Regions from separate parts of the Homo sapiens genome. Here regions 1, 2, 3, 4, 5 and 7 are each linked to region 6. The links are contacts of gene promoters, found by promoter capture Hi-C in blood cells and fetal thymus (Javierre and others, 2016). All regions are on one chromosome and are shown on one strand. Each heading gives the region's core, a stretch centred on a gene start or on the middle of the fragment in contact. The rest is flanking DNA. Distances are from core to core; before and after follow the strand shown. Region 1 overlaps SELPLG (selectin P ligand). Region 2 overlaps CORO1C (coronin 1C). Region 3 overlaps CORO1C (coronin 1C). Region 4 overlaps MYO1H (myosin IH). Region 5 overlaps CORO1C (coronin 1C). Region 6 holds the start of UNG (uracil DNA glycosylase). Region 7 overlaps TMEM119 (transmembrane protein 119).

What was found. Contacts are between HindIII fragments. The CHiCAGO score rates a contact against its expected background, and 5 or more counts as called.
Region 1: a contact is called between a fragment that was not itself captured here and the fragment with the promoter of UNG in region 6, in 8 of 17 cell types (total CD8 T cells, total CD4 T cells, activated CD4 T cells and 5 more). The highest score is 12.2, in total CD8 T cells.
Region 2: a fragment that was not itself captured here is called in contact with the fragment with the promoter of UNG in region 6 in 14 of 17 cell types (total CD4 T cells, total CD8 T cells, naive CD4 T cells and 11 more); the score reaches 16.0 in total CD4 T cells.
Region 3: a contact is called between a fragment that was not itself captured here and the fragment with the promoter of UNG in region 6, in 1 of 17 cell types (naive CD4 T cells). The highest score is 6.3, in naive CD4 T cells.
Region 4: a contact is called between a fragment that was not itself captured here and the fragment with the promoter of UNG in region 6, in 1 of 17 cell types (endothelial precursors). The highest score is 5.6, in endothelial precursors.
Region 5: a fragment that was not itself captured here is called in contact with the fragment with the promoter of UNG in region 6 in 1 of 17 cell types (M0 macrophages); the score reaches 6.0 in M0 macrophages.
Region 7: a contact is called between a fragment that was not itself captured here and the fragment with the promoter of UNG in region 6, in 1 of 17 cell types (endothelial precursors). The highest score is 5.7, in endothelial precursors.

Annotation. Positions count from the first base shown.
Region 1 is chr12:108,625,205-108,628,371 of GRCh38, reverse strand. All of the region lies in intron 1 of SELPLG (selectin P ligand), which reads left to right. Among named protein-coding and RNA genes, the nearest start is that of SELPLG, 7.1 kb to the left of the region's middle. The HindIII fragment of the contact is 2,694 bases long and covers 82-2,775 here.
Region 2 is chr12:108,665,472-108,668,416 of GRCh38, reverse strand. All of the region lies in intron 3 of CORO1C (coronin 1C), which reads left to right. Among named protein-coding and RNA genes, the nearest start is that of MIR4496, 31 kb to the right of the region's middle. The HindIII fragment of the contact is 2,085 bases long and covers 270-2,354 here.
Region 3 is chr12:108,643,064-108,645,877 of GRCh38, reverse strand. CORO1C (coronin 1C) reads left to right here. Exons shown (of 11, transcript NM_014325.4): 11 at 1-769. LOC105369968 (a long non-coding RNA gene) reads right to left here. Exons shown (of 3, transcript XR_007063449.1): 3 at 1-2,814. Among named protein-coding and RNA genes, the nearest start is that of MIR4496, 8.7 kb to the right of the region's middle. The HindIII fragment of the contact is 5,234 bases long and covers 1-2,814 here.
Region 4 is chr12:109,394,316-109,397,486 of GRCh38, reverse strand. MYO1H (myosin IH) reads right to left here. Exons shown (of 32, transcript NM_001101421.4): 4 at 905-1,103. Among named protein-coding and RNA genes, the nearest start is that of LINC01486, 36 kb to the right of the region's middle. RefSeq lists a silencer at 697-897. The HindIII fragment of the contact is 4,444 bases long and covers 1-3,171 here.
Region 5 is chr12:108,683,462-108,686,568 of GRCh38, reverse strand. All of the region lies in intron 2 of CORO1C (coronin 1C), which reads left to right. Among named protein-coding and RNA genes, the nearest start is that of CORO1C, 47 kb to the left of the region's middle. The HindIII fragment of the contact is 236 bases long and covers 1,435-1,670 here.
Region 6 is chr12:109,096,218-109,099,055 of GRCh38, reverse strand. UNG (uracil DNA glycosylase) reads right to left here and starts at 1,459. Exons shown (of 7, transcript NM_080911.3): 1 at 1,245-1,459; 2 at 418-624. The coding sequence starts at 1,376. RefSeq lists a silencer at 891-1,280. The HindIII fragment of the contact is 3,702 bases long and covers 1-2,838 here.
Region 7 is chr12:108,592,996-108,596,129 of GRCh38, reverse strand. The region is part of intron 1 of TMEM119 (transmembrane protein 119); the gene reads left to right. Among named protein-coding and RNA genes, the nearest start is that of TMEM119, 3.5 kb to the left of the region's middle. RefSeq lists an enhancer at 1,817-2,483. The HindIII fragment of the contact is 996 bases long and covers 1,199-2,194 here.

The sequences.
Region 1 (3,167 bases), core at 179-2,678, 470 kb after region 6:
GGCAAAAGTGTGTGTGTGTGTGTGTGTGTGTGTGTGTGTGTGTGTGTGTGTGTTACATTTATTAAGCACCTACTGTAAGCTTGGAACTTTTGTTTTCTTGTTTTGTTTTGAGACAGGGTCTCACTCTGTCGCCCAGGCTGGAGTGCAGTGGTACAATCTCGGCTCACTGCAGTCTCAACCTTCCAGGCTTAAGCGATCCTCCCACATTAGCCTCCCCAGTAGCTGAGACGATAGGTGTGCATCATCATGCCTGGCTAATTTTTCTATTTAAAATTTTTTTATTTTATTTTTGAGGCAGGGTCTTGCTTTGTCACCCAGGCTGGGGTGCAGTGGCATGATCACAGCTCACTGCAGCCTCAATCTCTCCAGGCTCAAGCAATTCTCCCATCTCCGCCTCCTGAGTAGCTGGGACTACAGGGGCACACCACCACTCCTGGCTAATTTTTTGTATTTTGTAGAGACGAGAGACAGGGCTTCACCATGTTGCCCAGGCTGGTCTGGAACTCCTGAGCTCAAGCAATCCACCTGCCTTGGCCTCCCAAAGTCCTCGGATTACAGGAGTGAGCCACCGTGACTGGCCTAATTTTTCTATTTGTGTCGAGATGGGGATCTCACTATGTTGCCCGGGCTGGTCTTGAACTCATGGGCTCAAGTGATCTGCCTGCCTTGGCTTCCCAAAGTCCTGGGATTACAGGCATGAGCCACCATGCCCACCAGCCTGGAACTTTTGAATCTATCCCCTTGTTGCACTGTCTCAACAGCCCTGTGAGATGGGCACTGTTTCTTATCCCAATTTTACAGATGGGAAAACTGAAGCTCAGGGAGGCAAGCATCTGTGTCAAGGTCATACAGCTTGTAAGGGACAGAGCTAGGACTTGAACATCCTTTTTGTCTGACCCCACATCTATGCTTTCAACCCTATGCCCTGCATGGCACCCGGTAAATATGTGGCAGGCCTTTCTGGGGGACATAACTTTCAAGCTCCTCCTTTTTCTTACTCTGCCCTCCCTCTCCCACCCAAGTCCACAAGCCCAGCCTTCTGTCTCCTCAACTAGGTCAGGTGTCTCCTGACGGCCTCATGCCTTCCTGAACCTCACTGGGTTTCAGTCTGATCTTGACCTCTCACCAGCTGTGTGTCTTTGGGCAAGTCACTTCACTTCTCTTAACCTCAGTGTGGTCCTTGGTAAAATGGGGATAATTGTGAGGGCCAGATGTCTCTGGTGCAAATATCGTAAAGTTTGGTTTAAGAAAGTATTTTTTTATTTTTTAGACAGAGTTTTGCTCTTGTCTCCCAGACTGGAGTGCAGTGGTGTGATCTTGGCTCACTGCAACCTCTGGCTCCCAGGTTCAAGCAATTCTCCTGCCTTGGCCTCCCAAATAGCTGGAATTACAGGGAGCACCACCACGCCCGGCTAATTTTTGTATTTTTAGTAGAGACAGGGTTTCACCATGTTGGCCGGACTAGTCTTGAACTCCTGACATCAGGTAAGCCACCTGCCTTGGCTTCTCAAACAGTTGGGATTACAGGCGTGAGCCACTGCACCTGGCCTAAGAAATTATTTTAAGATGTGGGTCGGGTGTGGTGGCTCATGCCTATAATCTCAGTGCTTTGAGAGGCCGAGGCAGGAGGATTGCTTGAGGCCAGGAGTTTGAGACCAGCCTGGACAACAGCAAGACCCCGTCTCTACAAAAAAAAAAAAATTAAAAATTAACCAGATGTGGTGGCATGTGCATATAGTCCCTACTACTCAGGAGGCTGAGGTGAGAGAATCACTTGAGCCTAGGAGGTCGAAGCTGCAGTGAGCTATAATTGCACTACTGCACTCCAGACTGGGCGACAAAGTGAGAATCTGTCTCTAATATAAGTAAGTCAATAAATAAATGGAAATAAATTAGTTTAAGATATGATCAGATTTGCATATTTGAAACCAACATAGGCCTGGCACGGTGGCCCACGCCCTGTAATCCCAGCACTTTGGGAGGCCGAGGTGGGCAGATTGCTTGTGGTCAGGAGTTTGAGACCAGCCTGACCAACATGGCGAAACCCCGTCTCTACTAAAAATACAAAAATTAGCTGGGCATAGTTGTGTGCGCCTGTAGTCCCAGCTACTTGGGAGGCTGAGGAAGGAGAATTGCTTGAACCCGGGAGGCGGAGGTTGCAGTGAGCCAAGGTCGTGCCACTGCACTCCATCCTGGGCAACAGAGCGAGACTCTGTCTTGGAGAAAAAAAAAAAAAAAAAAAAGAAAAGAAACCAACATAATTCTAACTAACATATGAAAGAGATCAGATTGAACCTGGCTGGAAGGTGAGGGGCCCGTGAGTGAGTTACAGTCACCCGAGGAATGATGAGCAACTGTTCGTTCCTCCAAATCATGTGAATGAAGTACAAAGGAAGAGACTGGAAATTGTCCGGGTGCTATTCTTGAATGCCCACTCTGCATCAGACACTATTCTAAAAGTTGTGTGCTGCTGAAGGGTGTTATATCCAGGGAATGCAGGAATACCTGAATCCTGCCCCAGAACGTGGCTGTCACTCACCATAGGATTCTCAGCATAGAATTTTTAATTCTGTAAACACCAGCCAGTGCCAAGGAGAGCATGAGGGGAGAGAAAGAAAACAAGAAAGCACAGGTGTTCACAATGCCAAGAAGAAAGATCAATGAGATGACCAAACAAGAGGCACTGTCTTTTCTGGCTACCTAGTAGGGAGGACAATGTAGAGTCTCTGAATAGACAGTGGTCCTACCCACAGGCACACTCAGTGACTATAAGCTTCCTGAGAGCAGGGCTGTTCTGAAGAGATTTGAGTTTTCTCCTGGCCATGGAGAGTGTAATTAAGTAGCCCTGGGCCCTTGAAGACTTATAGTGCAGGTTGACTGAAAGAACTAAATCAGCCAGTCTTTGCGGAGAGGTTGTCATGCAAACGAAGTGCTAAGGGTCTTGCATGCATCCCTTCATTTTATCCTCACAATAGGCTGTGAAGTAGGCACCGTCATCCCTGTTGTGCATTGTGCAGGCAAGAACACCACCAAAGCAAATGGGACCAAGACAAGACATTGAGAAGGAATGAGACAAACTGAGACTCTGAGGACTGGCAAGGGCTATGGAGGGTGGAAGCAAGATAGGAGAAGGAGGAAGACAGACATATAGAGGTGGCATGGCAGTG
Region 2 (2,945 bases), core at 63-2,562, 430 kb after region 6:
GGAAGTGATGTTTTGGTTCCTCTCAGGCATTCAGCAGGGAGGGCTTCGTCTTAATTCCATTTTGTACAGATTGCATCTGGGCCATTTGCCAGAGGATATTATAACCCTGGCAGATCGGAACCCAACACTCGGTTCTTGGTTTTCCCGAACTCGGTGCCACTCTGCACGTCATGGTTCATTTGGGAATGCCCTGATGCCCTACATGCAGGCCTTTGTGGGCGTCTGTAGGACGCTGTACTGGTCTGCAGCTGCTACCACATCTTTAAGCTTTCTCCTGTCTCATGTATTTTCTTCATTTCCCATTTGGAATTGGTTTCCTTAGGAATGGAAAAATAGGGTCTTTTGGGGGTGTAACCCTTTTTATGGCTGTAACTCTAGTCCTAGCCCAGTAGCAAGTTGATGATGGGTGACTAAAATAGGGAAGCAGTGTCTGGAAAGCAGTATTTGAAAAATAAAACTATTTAACTAATTGTACTTTAAAATTAGCACGTGAGAGAAACCCAAGTGTCTTAGTTTTCCTTTTTTCTTGTTGGGATTGTTCTCTTGAGTTGTCCTTTTTCCATATCCAGGCTTTCACATGTGAAAAGGATGCCCATGGTACAGTAGTTCTGAACATGTGCTTAAAGTTGTTTTTTTCCAGAACCACAATGGGATTTTACTGATGGATTCACTTTTTCATGTAGGAGCCCTTGGAACTGAATGTCATTTTTTTGGTTATATAGATGAGAGGTTTCTATGTTGCACAGGCTGGCCTTGAACGCCGAGCCTCACTTCCTTATGCACCAGGACAACAGGCCTGAGCCACCACAGCTCCTCTGATTTCATTTTTGTCCTTTCAAAACAAAACATTGCCATAGTAATGTGTTGTCCAAACAGAAAATGTTAGGAACACACAGCATTATTTAAATTAAGAAAATAAAATAAAAAAGAGGAAGTAGGGATAACTTGTACTCTCTGCTGCACTGAGATGCCTACTCTGGGTGTTTTGTGTCTGTTTTCCTCTGCACTCACTGCATACAGTTTTGAGAAAGCTGGTTGGTATTACAGTACCAGTCTGTAGCCATAGAACAAAGAAAAGCTAACAAGCCTGCACAGAGATCAGATCTGTCCTTACTGTGGTAATTGGCCTAGGTATAAACCAGAGCTTTCACACATAATGATATCTTGGGTGTAAATTAGTTAGTATTAATTAATTGGGTACAGTGCTGAATTAATTTGAAGACAAGACTCATTCTAAGAAATTCTGATGTTCAGACCTAGAAATATATATGGCGTCATAGTGGTCATATTAACAGCAAAAAAAGTCATCATGAAAATATGGTAGGCTCTTTTTTTTTTTTGCCACGCGCTATTCTAAGCCTTTATGTGCATGATAATATTTAGTTATTGTATCCGCACAGTAAGCCATGAGTGTGGCCTATTTTACAACTTAGGAAACAGGCTCAGAGAGTGGCAGTTTTGTTAAGGGTCACACAGCTGATAAAAGGCTCAGCCAGACCCAGATCTGTCTAGCTCCAAAGAAAGCCCCATGCTCTTCTCCCTAGTTGCAGTATTTCCTATTAGGGTGGTGCTTTGGGGCATGCAAAATGTTTGAGCTCATTTAACCCTTCTAATAACCCCTGAGTAAGCACAGCTGTCCCCAGTATTAAGGAAATTCAGGCTCCCAGAAGTGAAATCCCTTCTTAATGCTAACATGACCAATTAGTGTCCCAGCTCTGACAGGAGCCTGTGTCTTCTGACACCCAGGCCAGCATCCCATATTACACACAAGAGGACCAAACATGTACCAAGTGGTGCTTCTGTTTGTTGTTGTCCCTGAGCTGCAGGAACATCAGTCCAAACCGAGCAGGCCATCACCCAGAGTAGCAGACAACCCTGAAGAGGGCAGAGAGCCACATAATGACAGGCCTGTGAGCATGGCCTTTGGGTGCCAGCCAGAGCATGTGTATGCTGAGTGTGGAAAGACCTACAGACCGCCCCCAACCCCCAAGCTCTTTCCACAGTCCACCGTAGAGAACACCACCCCCTCTTTACCAGTGGACACAAGAATTCTGTTGTCTTCTTATTTCATTTCAGAGACTTTTTCACTCACTTTCTTCTCGCATTGCAGTCCTTGTGCTTATAGTATTAGCTTTTTCACTCTGGTGCTTTTTCCCTAGCAGCTCCTGAGCCAGCTTCTTTATGGCATTGTTTAAATGCTGCATGCACTTTTTAGAAAATTGCTCTACACATCTGCGTGTTTTATTTTGAGACTGGATATTCAATTTCTCCTCATATTCTGCTCTACTTTCACCTAAGTCTTGTTCATCCTTAGAGGTCACCTCCTCAGGGAGCCCTCCTGGGTGGACCAAGCTTGGTTAGCAGGAAGCTAATTTCGTAGTAGTGCGGTCGGCTTATGCCAGCATAGCATTGGTTGCACTGTGCAATAATACCAACTAACACTCAGTGTCTGCCTTATGCCAGGCATTCTTCTAAATGTGTCAGTTTCATGTTACCATGTTAGTCTTCAAACCGCCTCACAGAAGGCAGGTTCAATATTAAGTCCTGGAAAGGTTAGGTGAATGTCCTCAAGGTCACACCACTATGTGACTGAATCAGGAATTCAGTCACATCAGTCTGGCCAGAGCCCATAATCTCAGCCCTGCTGTGTACTGTCTCTGCATTCTGGAGGCACTATGTGTGTGTCTGGCTCTGTGCTGAGGGTTAATTAATTCCTTAATTCTCTTAGCACACCTCGCAGGCATAGGTACTAATGTTTTCTCTATGCAGTGATGTTTGCCAGGATCATCACAGGTAGTGGCCCAGGCAGGATTTGAACCAGACTCTGCCTGACTCTGGTGCTCACTCTCTAACTGTCTGTATCACACCACTTGGATTTGTTGTCTTTGATTTTCAGTCTGATAGAAGTCTCTGCTTTCTGTTAGACCATCAACTTCTCAAGAGCA
Region 3 (2,814 bases), core at 72-2,571, 450 kb after region 6:
ATTTAAGGAGCCTCTGTTTTGGAAGGGCTGTCTGTGATTGAACGTGAAATGTGTAGTGCCATTGGGACCACGAAGGGAATTCTTGCACATGCTCGTGCTGGTGTGGGCATGGGACTGGCTGGAAACGTCTGTATGCAGGGAGCCAGGGTGAGGGCAGAGTGTGGTGACAGCCGAACTTGGAGTAATGTCCGTGTAGAAAAAGGACCATGTTCTTATCCAGCCAATACTGGGAGTGCTGTCTCCACAATTTCAGGGCATCTGAATGTTTGATGTGGTTTTGTGTGTGTGTATGTATGTGTTTAATATTGAAGTGGATCATGAGATGTAAAGAAAACAATAATGGCAATGACTTATATTCAAATCTGTATTTGTTTCTTTATCAATGTAATCTGCTGAGGACCTTTTGTCTAAGATTCAGTAGTGTTTTAAGGTTCTGATATCGAATTAATGAAGTAAAGTTGTTGATGGTGGTGAAACACCGTAGGGCATGTGGTTCAAAGAGAAGCAGGAGGGCAAGGGAAAGTTACCCTGATCTTAGTTTGTAGCTTATGACTTATTTAATGAATGGATGCCCAGCCAAGCTCAGAGTAGGCGCCCAAAGCATTGTGGATTATTTTCCTGTTTTGTCTTTTTTTTTTTTTTTTTTTAAGCCATGACATCCCAGAAGAGGACAGTGAATTACTCCTAGGTCGGCTCTTATAGAGTGGCCATAGTGTTCTGTCAAAACACTTGCTTCCATTTTCAGAGATAAAAATCATTGATTACAAAATGGTGTTTGTGTTTATTTCACGCCTTGGCTGTCTGTGAGGCAGCCCCCACCTCTCTGCCTGACATAGCTTCTCTGACTTTGGTGGACGAGCACGGTGCCATACTCCTCTCCGGGGGTAAGTACAGGGGAAGCGCGTGTGGGTGGCTCAGTTCAAGTACAAGTGAGGTCTCCAAGCCAGTCAAGCACTGTGTTTTGGCTTCCAGCAGACCTGAGCCTTTGGATCCTGCCTCAGACCTTTGCCAGCGGTGTGTCCTGGGATGGGGTTCCTAATCCTTCTGAGTCCCTTTTCTTGAAAGGAGGATGATAATTCCATGTAGTTCAGATGAGAGGAATACCTGTGTGGCCACACAAACAACCCTCGCTGCATGGCCGCTACTGTTACTATTATGAGTTGATTTTCTGACAGAGTCTTTGAAAGCACTTTTTCTTCAATAGAAGCAAAATTCTCTTGGCTCAGCTGTGACTTTTATTCCAGCAGGCTTCCAGGGTCAGTTGAATTGCAGGGCTTCCCTTTCGCACTATGACATTGTCTCGTGACATTTCAGTGATTGTAGCAAAGAATTTCCCACTGTTTGCTTTTTCTGAATATGATGAATGGTCAGCATAAAGCTCCCCTTCCTCAAATGCCTTATCTTAAAGTTGCTTTAGTCTATGAGAAGAATGGCTGCCATGTTCTTGGTCCACTCGTGGCTGCAGGAAGTAGAAGTTGGCAGGGCTCTCTGTAGACCCGAGGTGCCCGCAGTCAGCCAGGAGACGCGTGGTGGTCTGTTTATGACTAACTTGTTTTCTCACTCGGGCCACCTTGATTCTTTGCCAGAAGACCTGAAGGTCAGCATGCTGGCCCCAGACAGCCAGCCAGACCTCGTCTGGGGGGAACTTCCATTTTTTTTTTCAAGGTCACTTCCCTTGCTGTACTTGGTATTCTACACCCAGAAAAACTCTTTGTTGGCTCTTAAGAATCTGTTAACTCTAAGTGGGCCCTTCTCTTTCTGCGGGCACATTAAGTATCCCAGTGCTGGCAGTGGGTCACGGACATGAGTCACCGTCAAGGGCACGCCTTTCCTGCTTCAGACGGGCAACCCTTGATGTCCAGGCCGGACAGTGCCCTTTGTGCTCTTTTATTCGTTAAAAAGAAGTCCCTTGCCAAAGAATGTAGGGGTGGCAGTCCTCTCCTGCGAAAAGCGGGTATGTGCGGGGTGGACAGCCTTTCCAGAGGGCAGTCTGGCAAGTGGATCAAAAGCCTTAAAGGTTTTCTTAAGACCCAAGATTCTCACCTTTGGAAATTTTGTCCCAGGGAACTAGTGGGAGGTATATTCAGGAATTAGAAGAGTAAAATCAACTCTGCAGAAGGGGGTCAGTAAGTTACTTGTCATATCCATATGTTATAATTCTGTTCCATTATTTAAAGTCATTTAAAAAGAGTATTGAATAGGAAACATTAAAAAAATAGTAAAATAAAGTCAATTCCAACTTGGGTTTAAAATATATACCTACCTAGGTTGAAACATGAAAGTATATTATTTCTGGGTGCTGGATGTCACTACCAACTTTTTTCTGTGTATGCCAAGAGCCCTACAGTGAACTGTGTTGCTGATGTCAGCATAAAAAGTGTGTTTACAAAGTAATTCTCATCAGCTCTCTACCCCATGGAGTCACTCTGCAGTAAATGATGTTAGTTGGCTAATCCATTCAGAAGTAAAATGGGGAAGAAAGTGAAGTCCATTGGACCTCATAAGAACATTCAGGACCAGAACTTCTAGTGAGAGGTGTAGGTTTCCTAATACAGATATGTAAAACCAACCCCGAACAGATGGCTTGTGACAAACTTTTTAAAGGATATATGCATATACAATGTATACTTATGTGTAGAATAAATACCAGAAATGTTGTTATTGCTATAGGGAGGTAAAGTTGTGTGTAATTTCTATTTAATCCTATTTTTCTGAATTTAGAAATTTCCTATAAATGTATTTATTCCCAGAAAGGCATTATTAAAATTAATGTATTAGTGATAAGTTAATAATTATTAAGATAAGCATAAATCA
Region 4 (3,171 bases), core at 17-2,516, 300 kb before region 6:
TGGAAATGGTCTCAGGAGGGGTACATAGAACCCTAGCCCCATGCTGTTCTAGAAGGTACAGTGGACAGCCCCCATCACCAGACCCCTTTTTATACCACCGTTGCTCTGCTCAAAGGGTCCACTGGGAAAATTCCTTCAACTATAAACATCTTCATTTATAGAAAGGGCCACAAAAACACAGGAGAAAATGACTTGTTCAGCAAGTCAGTGAATTGCAATAGTGGAAGTAATCATAACCAAAATAATTTTAACTCAATAATAAGAAAACTATTAATAAATAATACATTATTTTTGGTGCTTCCTAATTCTGCTGTGTGTTTTTTGTGCATCTGTTTCACTTAAGCCTCAAAACTTCTTAGGCTGGGTGTGGTGGCTCACGCCTGTAATTACAGCACTTTGGGAGGCTGATGCAGGGAAGGTCACCTGAGGTCAGGAGTTCCAGACTAGCCTGGCCAACATGGCGAAACCCCGTCTCTACTAAAAATGCAAAAATTAGCTGGGAATGATGGTACGTGCCTATAGTGCCAGCTACTTGGGAAGCTGAAGCAGGAGAATTGCTTAAACTCAGGAGGCGGAGGTTTCTGTGAGCCGAGATTGTGCCACTGTACTCCAGGCCTGGGTGACGGAGAGAGACTCCGTCTCAAAAAAAAAAAAAAAAAAAAAAAAAAAAAACGAAACCAAAACAAAAACCAAATGTCTTAAAAGGTAGGTACTATAAGCAGACCCATTCAACAAATGGGGAAATGGGCTTAGTTCCAGGTCACACCCTTAACTGTGACACTATCTGTGTGACCTCTTTTCTTAACAGTGACCTGCCCATTTTGACTGACCTGCCCAGACAGGATTTGTCTCACTTAGTGACCTCCCTGGAACTCCCTTCGATTGGTCCCCAGAGATCGCTTACCTCCAGCACTGGGTTGGAGAACAGCAGTCTGTCACGGGCTATTTGTAGTGACTGGGTCATTGGGCAGGTCACTGCAAAATACTCGAGAATTTTCTTGGAGGCCTCTGTTTTCCCTGCCCCACTCTCTCCAGAAATGAGGATGAAATGGTTATTTAGTTCAGCACACATCATTCGGTAAGCGTTGTCGGCTATAGCGTAGCTGGAGGAGGAGTGAGACGGAAACAAATTCGTTTTAATGGTACTTCCCTTGACTCTGACACCCACCAAAGAAGAAAAATGAGGTGCTCCATCTCCAGGAAGCCACATCCAGACTGTGGTACAAGGACAATGAGCTCAAACACATATCAAACCCTTTCCATAGGCGGGGCACAGTGGCTCATGCTTGTAATCCCAGCACTCTGGGAAGCTGAGGCGGGTGGATCACTTGAGGTCAGGAGTTCGAGACTAGCCTGGCCAACATGATGAAATCCCTTCTGTACTAAAAAAAGATACAAAAATTAGCCAGGTATGGTGGTGCATGCTTGTAATCCCAGCTACTCGGGAGGCTGAGGCAGGAGAATTGCTTGAACCCGGGAGGCAGAAGTTGCAGTGAGCCGAGATTATGCCATTGCACTCCAGGCTGGGCAACACAGCAAGACTCTGTCTCAAAAACAACAACAACAACAACATCAACAACAACAAAACAAACCAACAAAAAACAAAACAAAAAAACCCAAACCCGAAAAACAAAAAAACAAAAAATCCTCTACCACGACCCACTGACTAATCAAATATAGAGTGTACTAGATATCAAAACTCAAATAGTAGAAGAGCTAAAAGGAAGAATTTGAGAATTTTTTTTTTTTTTTGAGATGGAGTCTCGCTCTGTCGCCCAGGCCAGAGTGCAGTAGCACGATCTGAGCTCATTGCAACCTCTGCCTCCCAAGTTCAAGCGATTCTCATGCCACGGTCTCCCGAGTAGCTGGGATTATAAGTGCAGCACTACCACGCCTGGCTAATTTTTTTATTTTTAGTAGAGACGGGGTTTCACCATGTTGATCAGGCTGGTCTGGAACTCCTGACCTCGTGATCCACCTGCCTCAGCCTCCCAAAGTGCTGGGATTACAGGTGTGAGCCACCGCGCCTGGCCTGAAAATATTTTTTAAAGTTCACCAAATTTATGTTTTTAATCCATCAACATGTTTTATAAGAATAAGCCAGCTACTAAGTTACATCTCCAAGAGACGTTCTATTAACTCTAGATGAAAATAACAATCTTGTCTAAATACTAAATAATTCAATTCAATAAATAGAGTAAGATCTCATGTATTTTTTCCCTCAAAACCTAGAATACTAAAAATGGAGTGGCAGGAAACCAAAGAGATTAACAAACTTCAGTGATATCTTTAGGACAAGAGGTAAAACTATGAGAAGTGCTTTATCTTCAAGATCAGACACCAAAGCATGAAGGTATCCCAGGAATATAACCTGAATACGAGGCAGAGTTCCAAAGCCATTTCGGCTTTTAATACATGGTGGTGGCTGGGCATGGTGGCTCACACCCTGTAATCCCAGCACTTTCGGAGGCTGAGGCAGGCAGATCGCTTGAGCCCCAGGAGTTCGAGACCAGCATGGGCAACACACTGAGACCCTGTCTCTATAAAAATTACAAAAATTAGCCAGGGTGGTGGTGTGTACCTGTAGTCCTGGCTACTTAGGAGGCTGAGGTTGGAGGATCACCTGAGCTCTGGGAGGTGGAGGCTGCAGTGATCCATTACTGTGTCACTGCTCTCCAGTCTGGGTGACAAAGCGAGACCCTGTCTCAACATATATATGGTGGTGATGCAGAAAGGCTTATAAGTGACTTAGAAAGTGGAATAGCTGAGTCACCAAGACAACAGAGGCAGAATCTAAATATTAGCCTAGAAGTCAAGAGGGAGAAAAACTAGAAAATTCAGCAAAGCCTGGGCAAGAAAAAATTGCTCAAGTTTCCTTTTTTTTTTTTGGTAGTCATTGTTTTGAATGTTAAATAACTATTAGAACATTTGGCCAATCAGGCATAGTGACAAACAAATGGCATTATTTAGCAGAAAATATGGGTTATATGTTATTTTCAAATACAAGGGAAATTATTTAAAATGGTAAGGTTTTAAGGCCTAAAAACGTACTCAAGTTTGTGAAAACTGATATCAAGGTGGTTATATTTTCTAGCTTCTGTGAAATGGCTCTAGAAACTCTGAATTAATGTGTAACTAACCAGTAATCTCTAACTACATGCAAATTTTTAT
Region 5 (3,107 bases), core at 303-2,802, 410 kb after region 6:
ATTACATTTTCAGCTAAACTACTTCAATTTCATGCCAGAAAAGTAGTAATATTCTAGATTAAGCAACAGAGGTGATTTATCCCTAGTGAAATAGTGGACTGATCTGTTAGTAAAGTGAAGTTTTTCTATCTCTAAGCTTTAGAAGATTGGTGGGAGTTTCTTAAATAATTCATTTTTTAGTTTAAAAAGATATCTAAAAGCTGGCTTTAATTCTTGTACATCTTCCTTTCAGCCTCTGCATTCATTTAAATTTGCTGCTTAGAGGTTCAGGTAAACTGTGTTGTCACCATGACATGTGGTGGATGTCTTTCTGAGTGGCCCCTCACAATCTAGCTAATTATACATGGATTCTTTGGTTTGTTCACTACATGATAAATCAGTATGTGTCGTGCAGACGAATGAGAATTGTGTTCTTATTAGATCCTAGTGCAAAATGTCTTTCAGAATGATGTTTCCTCATCTTTACCATATAAGGCCGTTATTAGTATGGTTTCCTTTAATCTCCATGAACTGGAGCCCTCAGCAGTTTGTAAGTGCCCAGCTTTGTATTTTTAATAACGTATGCTGATTTGGTGAAATATGTTGTTGTGCTTTTGTTTTGATTTCATTATGAGTAAGAAGATACTTAGAGGTGTAAGCCCTTGAAAGCAGGATAGCTGATACTTGACTGTGTGTTTGTGAACATCCAGCATGCCAAATAATCAGTGTACCTTTAAAATGCCATCTACCCCCATACTGTCTTCACATTTTTGTTCTTTTATCACTGTCAGATATTTAGTCAATTGCTTTTCTCTTGTGCTACAGTAGAATACTACTTTCTCTGTTTTATTTAAGGATTTATGATGACATCACAACCAGAGGAAGCAGCTGCTTGTAGAATATCATTTTTTATTAACTGTGTTTCTGATGGCCAATTGCCAATAATTTTTAACATTACTTGTGTGCCTTTTTTTTACAACCCATGGCATAGTGGAAATTTTCTTTCCCTATCCAAATCTAGTATGGTTGGTCAGTGATATTTTAGATCTTTGCTTCTTGACTTTCTCTGTGCCTCAGTTTCTTTATTTGGAAAATAGGGTGATAAGATTCCCACATCTTAAAGGTTGTCATGAGGACAAAGTTATCAAGGTCTTCAGACAGTTCCTAGCTTGTAATTTAAGTACTTAAAAAGTGTTAGCCATTGTTATTATTTGTTTTGATAGAAAGGACAGAAATAGCTGGCAGTTGCTCTTTCAGTGACATTCAGGTTCCAGAGAAAATGTTGAGCTCTAGTACTTTCAGGCTGTGGATTTATTGGGGCTGAGCTGGGAATGGCAGTAATGCTTATTATTATTCTCAGATATCTTGACTGAAGAATACTGGTGAATAGCTATTAACTTTTAGCCAGGGTTATTTAATTTTAACTTCAAAAAAGAAGTCATTTAGTAAGAAGCTTCTTAGTATGTAATTAAGAACAACTAGTGCTAGTACTTCCAGATTCCCCTCAAAATTGCTTTGTGTTTGAATAAAAGCGCTTCTTAGCCCAGATTGGAAAAAATCATTTGGTGTTCTTGGAAGTTCAGAGCTCAGTACTATAGTTGGCCATCAAGGATGCCAAATGTGGTTTCCTGGGCAGAGCCTAGGAATGCAAAGACCCTGATGTAAAACAAAACAATTCAGGTAGAAAAGCTTTTTTCCTTGGGAGTAAAAAAAAATTTTAATGCAAATTTAATAATAATGCATTGGTGTATTTCTTAACTTTATTATATTTTAAATTCTTTTTTTCAAAATAAGATGTATCAAAATAATAGGACACACATGTACTCACAAGATTAAACAGATGTTAATATTTTGCCATATTTGTTTCATATCTCCCCTTTTTGAAAAAAGTAATAAAGCATAACAGATACAGGTAGAATACCATTCTTATTTATTTTCTCCTTCCCCAGAGGTAATCTTTTCTTCAAATATGTATCATATTTTTATTACATATATGTTTATCTGTAACATGTACTTTTATTTCGCGTGCCTTAAACTTTTATGTAAATATGTATTCCCATACTGAAGGACAGTGAAATTGCTTCTGCTTTTGCCACTATTTCCAACAATGCGGCAATAAATATTCCTCTTGTACAAAATATGGGAGCATCTCTCTCACCCAGACCACCTAGAAGTGGCATTGCTGGGCTGGACTTCCTCACCTCTACCTGTTACCAAATTGCTCTTGAAAGGAATTGTAACAAGGTGTTCTGTAAGCAGTTTATGAGTTCCTCTTTCCTGACATCCTTGTCAGCACTTATATTTATACTTTTACATTTTCACCAGTTTTGATGAGTATAAAATGTGACCATGTTGTTTTAATTTGCAGTTCTCTAATTATCAGTGAGATTGAAGTATCTTTTCACACATCTATTGCGTCTTCAGATTTTCTTCGCTGTGAGTTCTCTGCTTGTGTAATTTGCCCATCGTTCTGTTTGGTTGTTGATTTTGTTAGGTATGTATGTTGCATACCTCTTCTTGCACTTTGTAACTTGTCTGTTCATTTACATTTTTAAAGAACAACTCACACTGCTGAATTTGGTTTGCTTTTGTTGCTGTTTGTGAGGAGCTTTGCATCAGTATTTATAAGTCATATAGGCTTCAATTTTTCTCCCTTATACTGTCCTTTGTATCAAGGTGTTACATTCCTTATATGATGAATTCAGTGGCACTTTTCTTTTTTCTGTTCTCTGGAAAGCTTTGTTTGAAATGATCTCTTCCTTGAATATTTGGTGACACTCACCTGTAAAACCATCTGGGCCTAGTGTTTTTTGGTATTTGCTGATTGATTGATTGATTGGGAGGTGGTGATGGGTAGAGTTATACTACTGATCTTTTATGGTTATGGATCTAATTTACATTTATTTATTCTTGAAAATCTTTTGATGTTACTTTTACTTCTGTGAGATTGTGTATTTCATCTAGATTATTCAATTTTATATATATTGTCAAATGTTATTCCTAGTGTTTTCATACTCTGTAAATTTCTACTTTATTTGTAAGTTATGTCCCTTTTAAAATTATTGGTATTCATTTGTGCCTTATCTCTTTTCCTGATCTATCCAGTTTAGTTGATTTTGTTATTTATT
Region 6 (2,838 bases), core at 210-2,709:
AAACAACAAACAAAAACAGTGCCTGCCCCCCCACCTAAGTGGTTCAATCAGGTCAATTCCTTGCCTCTTTCTCTGGGCTGGGTCCTGACAGTGCCACTCCTCTCGGCTTTTTAAAGCTCAAGCCAGGTTTCATTCAGGATGGTTGGTGATTTTACTACGCCAGCCTTTCCTGGACAATAGACTATGTGACTTAAATGAATCCATGATATCATCTCGCGGGTCGTTAACAACTTTAACCAATATAAAGCTGCAGAGTGAAACATCATGGCTTTCTTTTACCCCCTTTGTGAGTAAAGGAGGTTGAAGGGGGTACAACCTAAGCCTACGGAAACATGAACTTGGCCGGCTACACTAACAAGACAAAAGGGCCGGCAGCCTCCACATTTACCCTTATGGAAGGTGCATTTCCATATTTACCTTGATAAAATACGGTTTCCCGAACTCCCCGCTGAGGTGCTTCTTCCAGCTCTCTCCAAAGCCCACGGGCACGTTGCGGGCCGCGAGTCTGAGCAGGGCCGCGGCCTTGTTCCTCTGGATCCGGTCCAACTGCTCGGCACTCAGCGGCGAGGAGGGCGGCGTCCCAGGCTCCTCCTGCCCAGCCGGGGCCTTCTTGGCTGGGATGGCCTGCAAGTGGTCCCCGCAGAGGCGGCTCAAGAGCTGCAGCGGCCCCTTCCCAGGCGTCCGCAGCTTCCGGCCCAACCCCCACGGCCCAAGGCAGAAGACGCCCATTTGTGGAACAGGTCCCAGCAAAAGCGGACAGTAAGAGCCCAGGGCTGGGCCCGGTCCGGGAATTGGGAATTAGGTTCTAAACTGGAGCGGGGAGACGGGCTGGGAGGCGCCCTATGGCTTCCCGAGGAGCGTCGCGGTGACTGGGAACCCTGCACAGAGGTGCCCCGCCCCCGCCAGACCCGCCCCACCGCGTCCCCACGTGGTCTTTTCGCGGCAAAAAACCTCCCTCTGGGTCCCGCCCCCTCTCCCCTCTGATTGGACAGCGCACCGAGCCAGGAGGGCCTGCGGCGCGCGGATTGGCGCCATGGGCCCCGAGACGCGTTCCCATTGGCTGGCCCTTTAGCATGGCGGCCCATGGGGGACAGCGGCGGCTATTTTGAACACGTGGAGGCTATTTGGAAAGCGGAGCCCGGGTTTACCGAGTCAGAGGCGCGATCCTGCACGCCCTCCGTCAGGCGGGGCCCACCGCCTTCCTCCCCCTTCACCCCCTAGCCCCGGCCCAAGCCGCGCCTCACCGCCGCATCTCCGCTTTCCTCAGGCACCCCAGCCACGCCGGTCCCCTGGACGGCCGGCTCGGGGCTGGGGGCGTGTCGCTTCCTGGCGGGGCTGGGGGAGAAAAAGGAGTAGAGCGTCTTCTGGCCGATCATCCTGGAGCTGAGGAGGCAGCGAACGCGCGCCACCCGGGAACCGGCGAGGCTAGCCCTGGCTGTGGCTGTGGCGGTCAGCAATTGGCGCCAAGCGGCCCGCGCATGCTCCGAGCGGGGGGCTTTGCTGGGGGCGGGGGGCGGTGGAAGGCCCAGTGCGCATGTGCGGGAGGGGCTGGAGTGCAACGCCCCTGGGAGGAGGTGGGGCGTGCAACGGTGCCCGGGGGCCTATTCTTTCATTCGCTTTGTGCCTTCAGCCCACCTCTGCTCTTTGGACAGGCTCTTAAGGCTCAGCTGCAAGAAGAGAAGACTGGTCAGGCGCGGTGGCCCACGCCTGTAATCCTAGCGCTTTGGGAGGCCCAGGCTGGAGGATCGCTTGAGGCCAGAGGGTCTGAGCTGTAGTGAGCTTTGATCGCGCCAATGCACTCCAGGCCTGGGCGACAGAGCGAGACCCTGTCTCTCGGTGGGGTCGGGGGGAGGGGGCTGGGAAGAAAAGTTCCTGCCCCTTAGGGGTGTTGTGGGAGTGCAATGAACAATATAATAATATTGTCCGGGCTTGATGGCTCACGTCTGTAATCCCCGCACTGTAATCCGAGGCATCTCAAAAACAAACAAACAAACAAATACTATTATATTTTGTGTGTGTATTTTGTTTTTGAGACAGAGTCTTGCTCTGTCGCCCAGGCTGGAATGCAGTGGTGTGATCTCAGCCCACTGCAACCTCCGCCTCCCGGATTCAAGCGATTCTCGTGCCTCAGCTAGGATTATAGGCGCGCGCCACCACGCCTGGCTAATTTTTCTATTTTTAGTAGAAATGGGGTTTCACCATGTTTGCCCAAGTGTGTTTTGTATTTTTTTAGTAGAGATGGGGGATCTCACCATGTTGGCCAGTCTGGTCTCGAACTCCTGACCTCAGGCGATCTGCCCACCTTGGCCTCCCAAAGTGCTGGGATTACAGGCATGAGCCACCACACCCAGCCAATATTATTTGTTGAACTGTTATATACATTTTCTCACGCAATTTTCATGGCCTATTTTATGACGATAAACTAAGGCTTAGTGCAGTCAAACATTTTGCCTAATGTATCAGGCTTGTGGGAGACTTTCGGGTCATAGAGGTTAAACACCAACGATTTGTCTTCCAAATGACACCACTGTACCGAACCTCCTCCCACCACTACTAATACACTTAGGATTCTCTTTCCCTCCCTCACATCCAAACCATCCATATCTGCTTTTGGTTCTTTCTCCAAAGCAAACCTCAAATTCAACTGCTGCTCTTGCATCTCCTAGCTACAGAAGACCAGCTGGGAAGCTGGTGTTCTCTTTTCTAGAGAGAGATTTTTACATCATGACAATACCTGGGGCCTGGCCCAGCTCGGTGGCTCACGCCTGTAATCCCAACACTTTGGGAGGCCAAGGAGGGGCGTATCGCTTGAGCACAGGAGTTCGAGACCAGCCTGGC
Region 7 (3,134 bases), core at 447-2,946, 500 kb after region 6:
GCACCAGGCACTCTCTGAAAGTTGTCTCATTTGGCCCTAACAGCTCTGAGAGGTGCTACCTGTGGTCACCCTGTCCCAACTTACGGATGGGGAAAGTGAGGCCCACAGGAGCCAGACCACAGAGCTGGATGCGATGGAGCCGGGATTCTTGACCCAGCCAGAACTTGAGTGGGTCTCCAGCCACCCATGGTCCCAGCTGCCCTCTGCAGTGAGAAGTGGTAGTTGTTGCCACAAAAGCTCTCTCCTAGGCTTGACTGGGGGTGGGAGGCAGGGAGGTGACTGGCAGGTCACAGACCCCAAAGCTCAAGGTTGTCTGTAGGAACCTTTGCTAACAGGTGCCAGAGAGGTGAGGGGGTCCTTTCCTCATTTAGCATCTGACAGGTGATGTCCACCAGCGGGAACAAGCCATTCCTGGCTCAGAGTGTGTGGTGTGTGCATGTGTGTGTGGTTGTGTAGGTGAGTGTGTGTGGTGTATGTGTATGGTTGTGTGTATGTGGAGTGTATGCATATATGTGTGGTGTGTGCATGTGTGTATGATTGTGTGTAGTATGTGAATGTGTGTATAGGGGTGTGTGTGGGGCATGTGTGTACGTGGTTGTGTGTGGGGTGTATATGGGTATGTGTGGCGTGTGTGCATGTTTGTGTGTGGGGTGTGTGTGCATGTGTGTAGATGATTGTGTGTGTAGTATGTGCATGTGTGTATATGGGTGTGTGAGTGTGTGTGTGGTATGTGTGTGCATGGTTGTGTGTGGTGTGTGTGCATGTGTGTATGATTGTGTAGTCTGTGCATGTGTGTATATGGGTGTGTGTGTGTGTGGCGTGTGTGCATGATTATGTGTGGGGTGTGTATGGGGATGTGTGTGTGAGTGTGTGGCGTGTATGAATGGTTGTGTGTGTGGTGAGTGTGCATGTGTATGTATGGCTGTGTATGAGTGTGAGTGTGGTTTGTGTGAATGTGCGTGTAAACTCCTGGGATCAGACAGAGGAAGGTTCAGATCCCAGCTCAGCTACTTATCATCTGTGTGTCCTTGGGGAAGTCACTGTCTGTCTCTGAACCTCTGTTTCCTCATCTGTAAAATGGGGATAATGAAGCTGCCTCAGGGCTCCTGTAGGATTAAAGGCATGAAAAGGGCTTAGATGAGTACCCGCGAGGAAAGCACAGGTGACCAGCTCATTTAAAATGAGCCCCTGAGAAGCTTTGTCTCTTTTTTAAAAAATTGAAATATTTTAATATATTTCATAGAGATGGAGGTTTCCTTATGTTGCCCAGGCTGGTCTTGAACTCCTGGGCTCAAGCGATCCTCCCAAGTAGCTGGGACTACAGGCATACACCACCAGGCCTGGCTACTTTTTTATTTTTTTGTAGAGGTGGGGTCTTACTATGTTGCTCAAACTCCTGCCCTCAATCAATCCTCCGGCCTCGGCCTCCCAAAGTGCTGGGATTACAAGTGTGAGCCACCACACCTGGCCAATTTTGCCTCTTTTTATGTCCTGGAATTATTTTTTTATTTTTTCCATCTAAGCCAGTTTGTTCACATTTAATTTCTTTTTTTTCTTTTCTTTCTTTCTTTTTTTTTTTGACAGGTTCTTGCTCTGTCACCCAGGCTGGAGTGCAGTGCCAACTCCGCTCACTGCAGCCTCAACTTCCCGGGCTCAGGCGATTCTCCCACCTCGGTCTCCTCGGTACCTGGGACCACAAGTGTGCGCCACTAGGCCTGGCTAATTTTTGGTGTTTTTAGTAGAGACAGAATTTTGCCGTGTTGACCAGGCTGGTCTTGAACTCCTGAGCTCAGGTGATCCTCCCACCTTGGCCTCCCAAAGTGCTGGGATTACAGGCATGAGCCACCGCACCCAGCTGATGCGATCCATTTCAATGAAAGCTGTGTCACAGAGAAGCCTCAGGTCACCTGGAACAAGCCCCTCAATGGCCCAACCTGGTTCCTACCTCACCTCCAGAATCCTCACGGTACCTGTGGGGAAGGTAGTGTCCTCTGCTTCACCAAGCAGGCCCTGAGGCCCAGGTGCTGGAGATGTGACCGCAGCCGAGGCCTTGGGAGCCTGGCTTCCTCCTCCAGCCCGGAACTTGCTGTGTGGCCCTGGGCCTGCCCTTTGCCTTCTCCGGGCCTCTGTCTCTCCACCTCAGTTCCCTGAGGCCTCAGGACAGGAGATCCTAAGGCTTTTCTGTGTTGAAGCTTCTAGACCCAAGCCCGCTTCCGGGACCTGAGCCCTCTGCTGGGCCGGGCAGGGGTTCTCAGAGGACAGTGCAGTGAATTGTCCCTGGGTTTGAGCAGCTGGGAGCCCCCAGCTCACATTGGCTGGGAGAGACAGTGTTTTGAAACTCAGCTCCTCTGTCAACTCTGGCTATGAGGAATTAATTCATCAGCCGGGCTGTCTGGGCCAGGTGGGGTCTTGGGGTTCACCCGGGAGCAGCCTTCCATCAGGGCAGGGAGGCCCCCGGCTCATCTGGTTCCCATCTAGTGGGGGCGGGGCGCATCGGCAGCTCAGCTTTGTCTTGGGAACCAGGACTTCCCCACCCTGGGGCCCATCCTGGCTCCTGCTTGGAGCCTGGGGGTGAGGGCAGCCACAGGGGGCTGTCCATGCATGCCCCTGGCATCCATGACCCCTGCCTAGCTCAGAGACCTGGAGGCTTCAAACCCTACGAATCTTTTTTTTTTTTTCTTCTTGAGATAGGTTCTCGCTCTGTCACCTAGGCTGGAGTGTGCAGTGGCGCGATCTCGGCTCACTGCAACCTCCGCCTCCCAGGTTCAAGCGATTTTCCTGCCTCAGCCTCCTAAGTAGGTGGGATTACAGGGGCACGACACCATGCCTGCCTGATTTTTGTATTTTTAGTAGAGATGGGGTTTCACCATGATGGCCAGGCTGGTCTTGAGCTCCTGACCTCAAGTGATCTGCCCACCTCGGCCTCCCAAAGTGCTGGGATTACAGGCGTGAGCCACTGCGCCTGCCCTGCTAGGAATCTTTTGCAGAATAAGGTAGAGCTGGGCTGGCGGAAGGTTTGAGAAAGCCCCTGAACCACCAGGTTGTGGCCGCGCGGAGCCACTTTGGCCACCCAGTGCATGGGGGCCAGACCCTGAGGGGAACGGGACCACAGAGAGGCTGGGGACTGAAGGGAA